3 separate regions of the Homo sapiens genome follow, and all the other regions are linked to region 2. The links are contacts of gene promoters, found by promoter capture Hi-C in blood cells and fetal thymus (Javierre and others, 2016). All regions are on one chromosome and are shown on one strand. Each heading gives the region's core, a stretch centred on a gene start or on the middle of the fragment in contact. The rest is flanking DNA. Distances are from core to core; before and after follow the strand shown. Region 1 holds the start of OTOG (otogelin). Region 2 holds the start of PIK3C2A (phosphatidylinositol-4-phosphate 3-kinase catalytic subunit type 2 alpha). Region 3 holds the start of ABCC8 (ATP binding cassette subfamily C member 8).

Region 1 (2,700 bases), core at 158-2,657, 340 kb after region 2:
CTTAAAATATGATCTGTTTTCTCACCTTAGCATTAACTATTAAGTCAGCGATAAAATGGAAAGACTTGTGGGATTTTTGAATGGTCCAGAAAAGGCCACACAAAATGCATTCCCCTCCGACTTACTTCATTGATTCTCTACATTGGAAAAGAATGTCATATGGCTGTTTATTTTGTATTTAGAATCCTGGCAGAGGTGAATGAATGTCCTTATCCAGGGGAATGCTGTTCACCTGCCACACCAATCCTTATTTTACATTGGCCATTACCCCCACAGACTCCCTCCACCTTAAAATGCCCCCTGCTTTGTTTTGAGAATAGCATTGAGACCTGGTTCTCCTCTCTCATGAATTTTTGTTTCAAGCTTCCTTGGAGACAATCAGTCTTTGCCTGTTCCTTAACCAGCATTCCTTAAGGCTCCATCCTTAGCTCTTTCCTCTTCATCTTCCTATCTGTGCCCCCAGCTTCCTCCTGTGTGAAGATAGCTGTGTTTGCTTTATTTACCACTATATGCCTAGAACAGTGCATGGCATGGAATCAATGCCAAACAAATTTGTTGAGTGAATGAATGAATGAATGAATGAATGAATGCATCTCAAATCTATACCCTTGCCTAGAAGTCTACTGGGGCCAATACCACCACGACCACCACCACCACCATCATCATCATCCTCTGTAAGACCTAGCATCTAGTTGGTGTTCCCTAAGTGATGACGAAGTGAATGATGTACAGATTCCCCAGGTGCTCAGTCCCATGTTTTTGCCATTTTAAAATTCCTCCTGGGCAGACAGTGGACCTCGTTCACACATATAAAGTTGTTTTGTCAAAGTTTGGCCTTGATGGTGGCAATAACATAGGAGTATGAAACACTTTTATTATTCAATCGTCATTTCCTGAGCTCGGGCAGGAGCTGGTGCTGGGCATTCAGAGGACTAAGGCATGATCCATTCCCTAGAGGTGCTCAAAACTGGTCATAGGATACGGATGTGGAGACCCAGGTGGAAGCTGAGGTGGGGCATGGTGAGAACATAGGCTAGGACTCTGCAGGCTCTGTTATTGACCACTGATCCCTGAGTGGCATGTCCCAGGGCCTCAGCATGGCCCTCTGTAAAAGGAGAGGATAGGGCCAGACTCATACCTGCATCTTGCGTCTCTGGTATTGGGCTTCCAGGACCCAGGTAAGGGGAGCTGGAGGTTGCATAGGCTGCCTCTATGCTTCCCTAGACAATTTAGGGCTGAGTAATCTGAATCCAGCCTCCCCTGGGGAGGTGTGGCCACAGGCCAAGAAAAGCAGAGGCTAGGCTATGGACAGGCGCCTAAATTATGGTAATAAGCTGGGTACTCCTGTCACTCTAGTTCGGGGAGGAGCTGAGAGCCTGGGAGGAGGGGCTGAGGGAGCCCTGGGGCATGAGAACAAGAGGGACCTCGGCTGCGGAGTGGAGGTGTGACCCTGCCTTAGCCCGGGGAGGCACCTCGGGAGGCTGGCCCTGCGCTCAAGTCCTCCGGTCCCCTCGTGTCCCTATGGGAGTCCTGGCGTCTGCGCTCTGCTGGCTGCTTTGTGTCTGGCTGCCCTGGGGTGAGCAGGCAGCCGAGTCCCTGCGGGTGCAGCGCCTCGGTGAGAGGGTTGTGGACTCAGGGAGGTCGGGGGCTCGAGGAATGAGAAACGTTAAAGGAATGAGGAATGGGCCCGCGCAGGTTGGAGAGAGGGAGGAAAGAGAGGTTTGAGGGAGAGCAGAGGGACACCCAGGAGGAGCAGTCAGGGGAGGAGGGACCCCGAAGCCAACAGAGGCAGGCCTATGACCGCGGGGGAAAGAGTCCAAAGTTAGGCTGGGTGGAAGAGACCCGAGGTGGGGAACTAGAGAGAGCTGGGGGCCAAAGACTGAGAGTAAACAGGGAGATCCTGGCTGGAGAAGGGTCATCAGGAAGGGAGAGAAAGGATTTGAGAAGGCTGCAGGGAGGGAGAATGGGGGAATGCTCAGTGGCGTGGGAGAGGCTTTCTAGCAGTGGGGGCCAGGTGGTGGGAGGCCCCAGTAAAGACAAGCACAATTTGAGTGGAGAATAATCCCCCTCCCCAGCCGCAGCACCCGTTCTGTGGGGCAGTGCAGAGCCACAGCCAGAGCCAGCCGGGCAACCCAGGTGAGTAGGTGTGAGCTGTGGCGGCCCCACCCACAGCTCCCATCCGTATTTCTGGCATCAGCGACCCCAGGGCTTTAGCACTTAGGGTGGGATAGGCCAGGGGACTGCGGGGAGGCATAACCCATCCTAGCCCCCCATCCATGCCAGACTCGTGTTTCCTCCAGCAGCAGCCACCAGGAGGCGACCCTTGCCATGGGGGACAAGGCTACAGTCGTGGGAGGCCAGGTAAGGGAGGTCTTGGGAGGGGGCTTCATTGAGCAGGAGCTCATGTCTATCTGGATCTGAGGCTGGCAGGGAGCTCTGTAGGTTACAGGAGGGGTCTCTGGAGTTGTTCAGAAAGGAACAAGCAGATTCCTGGTATGTGTCTGAGGTGTGCAAGTTCATAAAACCCTTCTATTCTTTTTAATCTCTTGGGGGTCTATAGTCCACTCTTTTTTTTTTTTTTTTTTTTTTTTTTTTTTTTTTTTTTAGGAGAGGTGGGCACCAGGGCTCTTTCAGGAGAGAGCTGAGCTCTCCCTTCTGGCAGGTAAAAGTAGAAAGATGGACGTTTAGAAGAATGGAGTT
Region 2 (2,700 bases), core at 123-2,622:
CCAACTATGGCAGAGCTGCTAAAGGAGTCTCTTGTGGAGACTTGAACCACAAGCCAAGGAGGCAAAGGTACAAAGTCTCTCCTGGAATTAGTTCCTGGACTTCTGTGCAGCCTTCCCTCTTTCTACTATGTCTTCACCGTTCCCCTACAAACAGCTTTCTTCTTCTTGCATCTCTTATATGCTGTGGCCTTTGATGCTACAATAGATTTAAAAATTTTCCCAACAGAGCTTTTCTGCCTGAAACCCACCAGGAAAGATTTCAGGACATTCTTTAATAACTAATCTTGTTCAAAGAGGCAGGCCTCCTTCGTTTCACTTAATTCAAACCCCCACTGTTCAAAATAAGAATATAATTATAACCTCAATTTCTATCGGGCCAGTATAGGAAAAGAACTACAACAGGCTCTCTCTTCCACGTTATGTCCAGACTTTTTTCCTTAGTTTCTCCTTCCTCATTTCCCTCCTCAATCCCTCCTCCCCCAAAAAATAATTCCACAGCTAGAGAATGTCGTTTTTAAAGCCAGAAATTCAGTGAGGAAAATAAGTATGTGCCTTTTTCTTCAATTATTTATGATTCCTCCGTCACTCAGGAAGAGTTAAGCTAGTATTTTTTAATCTGACCGCTCTCTCAGAAGGATGATGCGCTAAATACACACTGAAAGAATAGTGTTCCCAAAGCAAGTGGATTCGCGGCTAAAGGCAACGCGGTGGGAGTGGGGGGTCCGGGAAGAAGAAAAAGTATCCTTGGCCCCCAGAGCCAGAGATGGGACAGGAGGTGAAAGAAGGGGCCGTCACTGAGAAGTACAACACACACACTCGCCAGAACTAACAATCTGCCAAGAAAATAGGACCGGCCACTGCGGCTCCAGCCCGGTCCCGCGGGACAAGGCGGGGGAGGGGGGCCGGCGGCCGGGGGGCCTGCCCTCCTTCTGTGGGACAAAACTAACTCCCTGGCGCACCTCCGCTCCCGAGAAGAGGGGCCTGGTGGGGACGCGGGCTCCTCGCACCTCCAGCGCAGCACTTGCTCACGGCCTGGGTGGAAGCAAGGCCCGGAGGGAGGGGGGAGTCGGGCTGGGCAACGCCAAGAGCACGGGATGGAGGGTCAGACGCGGGCACCCAAGGCACTGGGGGCCGCGACAAGAGACCCTTCCAGCCCGGGAACCCCGGGGCCCCTCTCCACCCTTGCAGAGCAGGACCCCGAATATCGTCCCCAGCCGCACCGACCGCTCCTCACCTCAAGCTGCCTGAGCCTCCGCCTCTACCACAACCTGAGCCGCCGAAGCCGCCACAGTCCGAGCCATTTTTCCCCTCAGCTGGCTCAGCCGCCGCCGAAAGCTTCGGCCGACTCCACAGCCAGCCAAGCGCAGCACGTCACTTCCGGACAGGGAAGCACCGCCTTCCCCGCCCGGACTTGTTGCGAATTGGCTGGCGCGGACGGCCTACCTGAGCTGGCGGGCGGGGCTTGGACGCTGCCGGGGTGGCGTGAGCAAGGGAGCTGGGGCGCTGGGGCGCACGGGCCCGGGGGACCAGGGTCTGGCTCTCTCCCGAGGAATGCTGAGCAGGCTCTGGACGCCTCTCCGTGCACACCCCAGACCTGGGGAGGGGAGCTCTCCGGACACCCCAGCTGGCCGCCCCTCGGGCCCTGAGTCCGAAGACCCGCTAAACAGGGCCCGGGCACTGAAGTACCCTATTGTTCTCATCCCCTCTCCCGGGACCCCGCACCCTCCTCCATCTAGGCTGAGGTTCCCAGATTTGTGTCTTGGCCCCTGGCGGCGCCGAGATTACTTTGTGATTGGAAGACTGAAAGGAACAGGCAAGACTTAAACTCGTCCACTCCAACCAGTATTTACCGAGGCCTCACGGTGGGTCAGGTGGTATACGGTGGGTAATTAGTAGCCTATCACGTGGTTTCTGTAAAATGCTTGATAGCACGTAAAACGCTTTCAGGTCGGCGTCTCGTTTCATCCTCACAACAGCCAGGTAAGGAAGATAACCCCCTGATAATAACTCACAGCCAGACGGCTCTTTCTACATTACAAAGTATTTTCACATGCAACCTCCATAATAATATATTCTTATTGAGAATTTAATGAGATTATGCTTGTAAAGCGTTTGGTCCTCACGTGTTAGATCTAAAAATTACGTAACCATGGGAAGATATAGGAAAATTATCCCCATTTACAGATGGGGCTTCTGGGGCACAAAGATGTTAAGGGGAGAGGAACGATTCCATAGCGTTTTACAACAAGATTGTCTTTTAAGCAGTAGGAGAAGGGGGTCCACACCATCCAGACGTTCACAATCTGATGTGGCAGACTGATTTAGGCTGCATTTCTCAGCCTAAACTAAAAATTATCAGCCTATATGATATACGCATAATTAGAAGGCTCTAAGAGAAGTTGAACTTTCAGCAAATAACTGGAAAGAAAGAAATTGGCCTGATTTGGCAGGGACGGGGGTTGGCGAAAGGGGGCTAGGGCAATGGGGAATGTGGAGTGGATGAATCCCTCATAGCGCTGTAATAAACATGCCTGCACCTCCGCAGGGATGGTAAAATTGGATGGAGTTTCTATTCTATGGGGAATTCTAGAAACAAATGTGATTATTTCTTACGGCTGTAGCTACTGGCTGTTGTACACCCCCCCCCCTTCCAACTCCTATCTTTCCCCCAACCCCGCCCCTCCTCTATGCACACACACT
Region 3 (2,711 bases), core at 26-2,525, 270 kb after region 2:
GGTTAATAAACCGTTTGGCTGAGAACAGAAGTGTAAATGCTGTTCTTTTTTGATTTTTGATGCACATATGAGCACATATTTTGTATGTTTTATTTCTATTTCTATCTAACTGTCTTTGTTAATAACTAGCAACTCTGCTTCTGCAGCAACCTCTTGTAAATCTAATTTTGTGACAATCTTTCCTTTCTTCCCCAAAGCTGTATATGAATTTTAAGATTTGCTTGTTTTCTTAAAGTGAATGAACACGTTTTGGGGATGCAGGGGACACCCTATGAGTTGATAGACTTGACTGGTCTGGAAGAGTCAAGGTCTTGGAGAGAGATGGGGGGGACCTCAGTGGAGAGGCACGCACGATTGTCCCGGCCGTGGCGCCCAACTTTGCAAGCAAGGGCGCCGGGGTCGCTGCGTCGGCGAGTCGGAGCTACTTTGCGCAGAGCCTGAGAAGTTGCGCTCTGGAGACACATGCCCGGGTGGGGTGGCGGGGGAAGGGAATCCAAGTCCCTAGCTCTCGCCTCTCCTCGCCCAGGGCGCGGGCCTGGGACTGTCAGAGATCACGGACCACTGCGCGGCTCAGCCCGGTGAAAGCATAGGGGTTAGCTGGGCCTCCATCCCAGACTCCAAAGCACAGGCTTCCCTCTTCCCTAGGCCCAGCTGCGGCTGACAGGGAGGCTGCCTTGCGGGAGGGGTGACCCGGCTCCCTAAGCTGCGCCACGGAGGGTGAGGCCCGACCCCTCTCCAGTTTCCCACTGCGTGCTGAGACCTCCTCTTTCCCTTTTCCCCATCCCAGCTCTTGGCCCTGCAGAAGCAAAACTTGGTGATCCCATGGGTCACAAACGTCCGCTGTGTTTGGCGCGGGATCGGGGGCACCGGGGGAGTGAAGGGATGAGCTGGTGTGCGAGTGCGGGGACCGGCGGGCAGGACACAGGGCAGGGGACCCCGGGAACGAGGCGGACGGCGGTCGCGGGCCGGAAGGGGACGCCGAGCGGTGCGGCGCGCAGCGCCTCCTCCTCCCTCCCTGCTCTCCCGTCCCCTCCTCCGCGGCTCGCTGCGCGCACTCACCAATGAAGAGGATGGGGAAGGTGATGAAGAGTAGGAAGACGTGCGGCACCACGTTGAGCGCGTCCACAAAGCAGCCGTTGTTGAGGACCCCCTGGTCCACCCGGTAGGCGGCCGAGTGGTTCTCGCTGCCGCAGAAGGCCAGGGGCATGGCGGCGCGGGCGCGGGCTGGGCTCGGGCTCAGCTGGCTCCGCTGGCTCCGCGCGCCTGCCGCGCCTCTGTCCCTTGCAGCTCCGCCGCCCGGCCCGGCCGTCAGGCCCCCGCCCCCCGGGCCCCGCCCAGCCCCGCTGGCCTCCCCCTCCCTCACCCCGCCCTGCTCCACCACCTGCGGGGCCGGGGGGCGGCGAGGAACCCGACCGGCCCTGCTACGCTTGCGCCCACCTTCCAGATGTGGAGGCGCGTGCTCCCAGATGTTGCCGGGGTGGCTTCGTGAGTGCCCTGATGCACGCGTGCGCTGGGGGAGAGGGGAAAGGCAGGCTAAGATGGGGAGTGGGGTGTGGGCACACTGGAGTCTGGGTGGGAAAGGAGGGTGGGGCGTGCAGAAGAGGAGAGAAGGGCCCGCAAGGCCTGGAGTGGGCGGGTTCAGGGTCCCGAGTGTGAGTTCACCTGGGCGTGGTGCGGATGGATGTAGAGAGCCGAGGGATGGCGCAAGTCTCCACCCAACATGGATGAGAAAAGTGGGGCAGAACGTTACCTTGTGGTGGTGGTGGTGGTGGGGTGGGGCTTGGACATTTTCAAAAGTGGTCCCAGGTGGGGCACTCCTAGGTACTGCTTTACAGCGTATCTGGCACTTTCACACAAGGGATGTCCCAGAACTCTTGCTAAGTACAGGTTCTAATCGCTTCCAATTTTCTGATGGGGAAACCCAAGCTGCGAGGGAGCTGAAGGGAGGCCAGTAACATGACTTCCCCCAAGGTCTCAGTGCCAGCAAGCAGGGAAGCATAGCTTGAACCCAGCTCCTCAGGTCCCCCGTCCCCACCCCCATCATTTGTACTCATGCCTCTGGTACATGACAACCTTACAGCGACTGGCAGACCAATGGGTAGAATGGGTGACAGCCCCAGGCTGATAAAGAGGAGTTTAAGAAACGCATCTGGCCAGATGGATGTGAGGCAGTGGAGAGGGACTGAAATTCTTAACCTCACCTGGGACAGGCTTAACAGTTGGAGGACACCGTGCAATTGTAAAGACAACATTATGTCTTCCTATACGTTTTGGAGAGATTCTCACAAGACTGTGGCCCAAAGAAGTTTATATTGTATGTAGAAAGAACAGAAGATGGGATTTGGGGGTTAGATTTAAGGAGAACTTTCCTAGTTAGGGTATGAAGCATAAATGCACATGTTCTTAGGAACAGTCAGGGGAACACAAAAGAAAGACCCCTTCAGCCCCTTTGCCTACAAGCTTCACTGAGCCTGCCCTGAGGCTGCTGAGCCTGGTGAGCCTCTCCAGCACGCTGTCAGCAAGGCCGAGGCTCTGCCCAGGCCCTGAGGCAGAGGGCAGATGGGGTTGGGTGAAAAGCCTTGGGAAAGCAGGAGTTCAGGGTCTGAATGCCTCAGTCTCTGACTTTGGAGAATTTCTCAGAAGCCAAAAGATGTTTCTTGCAGCATCAGCCAAAATAGTGAAAACTTGGTGGCAAGAAATATCCAGCACCA

The links. Contacts are between HindIII fragments. The CHiCAGO score rates a contact against its expected background, and 5 or more counts as called.
Region 1: a contact is called between the fragment with the promoter of OTOG here and the fragment with the promoter of PIK3C2A in region 2, in 16 of 17 cell types (M0 macrophages, total CD4 T cells, M1 macrophages and 13 more). The highest score is 34.5, in M0 macrophages.
Region 3: the fragment with the promoter of ABCC8 here is called in contact with the fragment with the promoter of PIK3C2A in region 2 in 16 of 17 cell types (M0 macrophages, fetal thymus, M1 macrophages and 13 more); the score reaches 26.5 in M0 macrophages.

What each region holds. Positions count from the first base shown.
Region 1 is chr11:17,545,852-17,548,551 of GRCh38, forward strand. OTOG (otogelin) reads left to right here and starts at 1,408. Exons shown (of 56, transcript NM_001292063.2): 1 at 1,408-1,615; 2 at 2,076-2,136; 3 at 2,301-2,361. The coding sequence starts at 1,522. The HindIII fragment of the contact is 7,774 bases long and covers 362-2,700 here.
Region 2 is chr11:17,206,614-17,209,313 of GRCh38, forward strand. PIK3C2A (phosphatidylinositol-4-phosphate 3-kinase catalytic subunit type 2 alpha) reads right to left here and starts at 1,373. Exons shown (of 33, transcript NM_002645.4): 1 at 1,235-1,373. RefSeq lists enhancers at 640-1,163, 1,164-1,686, 1,192-1,301 and silencers at 832-1,091, 1,442-1,521. The HindIII fragment of the contact is 7,601 bases long and covers 1,334-2,700 here.
Region 3 is chr11:17,475,570-17,478,280 of GRCh38, forward strand. It overlaps ABCC8 (ATP binding cassette subfamily C member 8), which reads right to left and starts at 1,276. Exons shown (of 39, transcript NM_000352.6): 1 at 1,060-1,276. The coding sequence starts at 1,207. LOC124902641 (a long non-coding RNA gene) reads left to right here and starts at 1,082. Exons shown (of 2, transcript XR_007062609.1): 1 at 1,082-1,162. RefSeq lists an enhancer at 1-488. The HindIII fragment of the contact is 8,626 bases long and covers 1-2,458 here.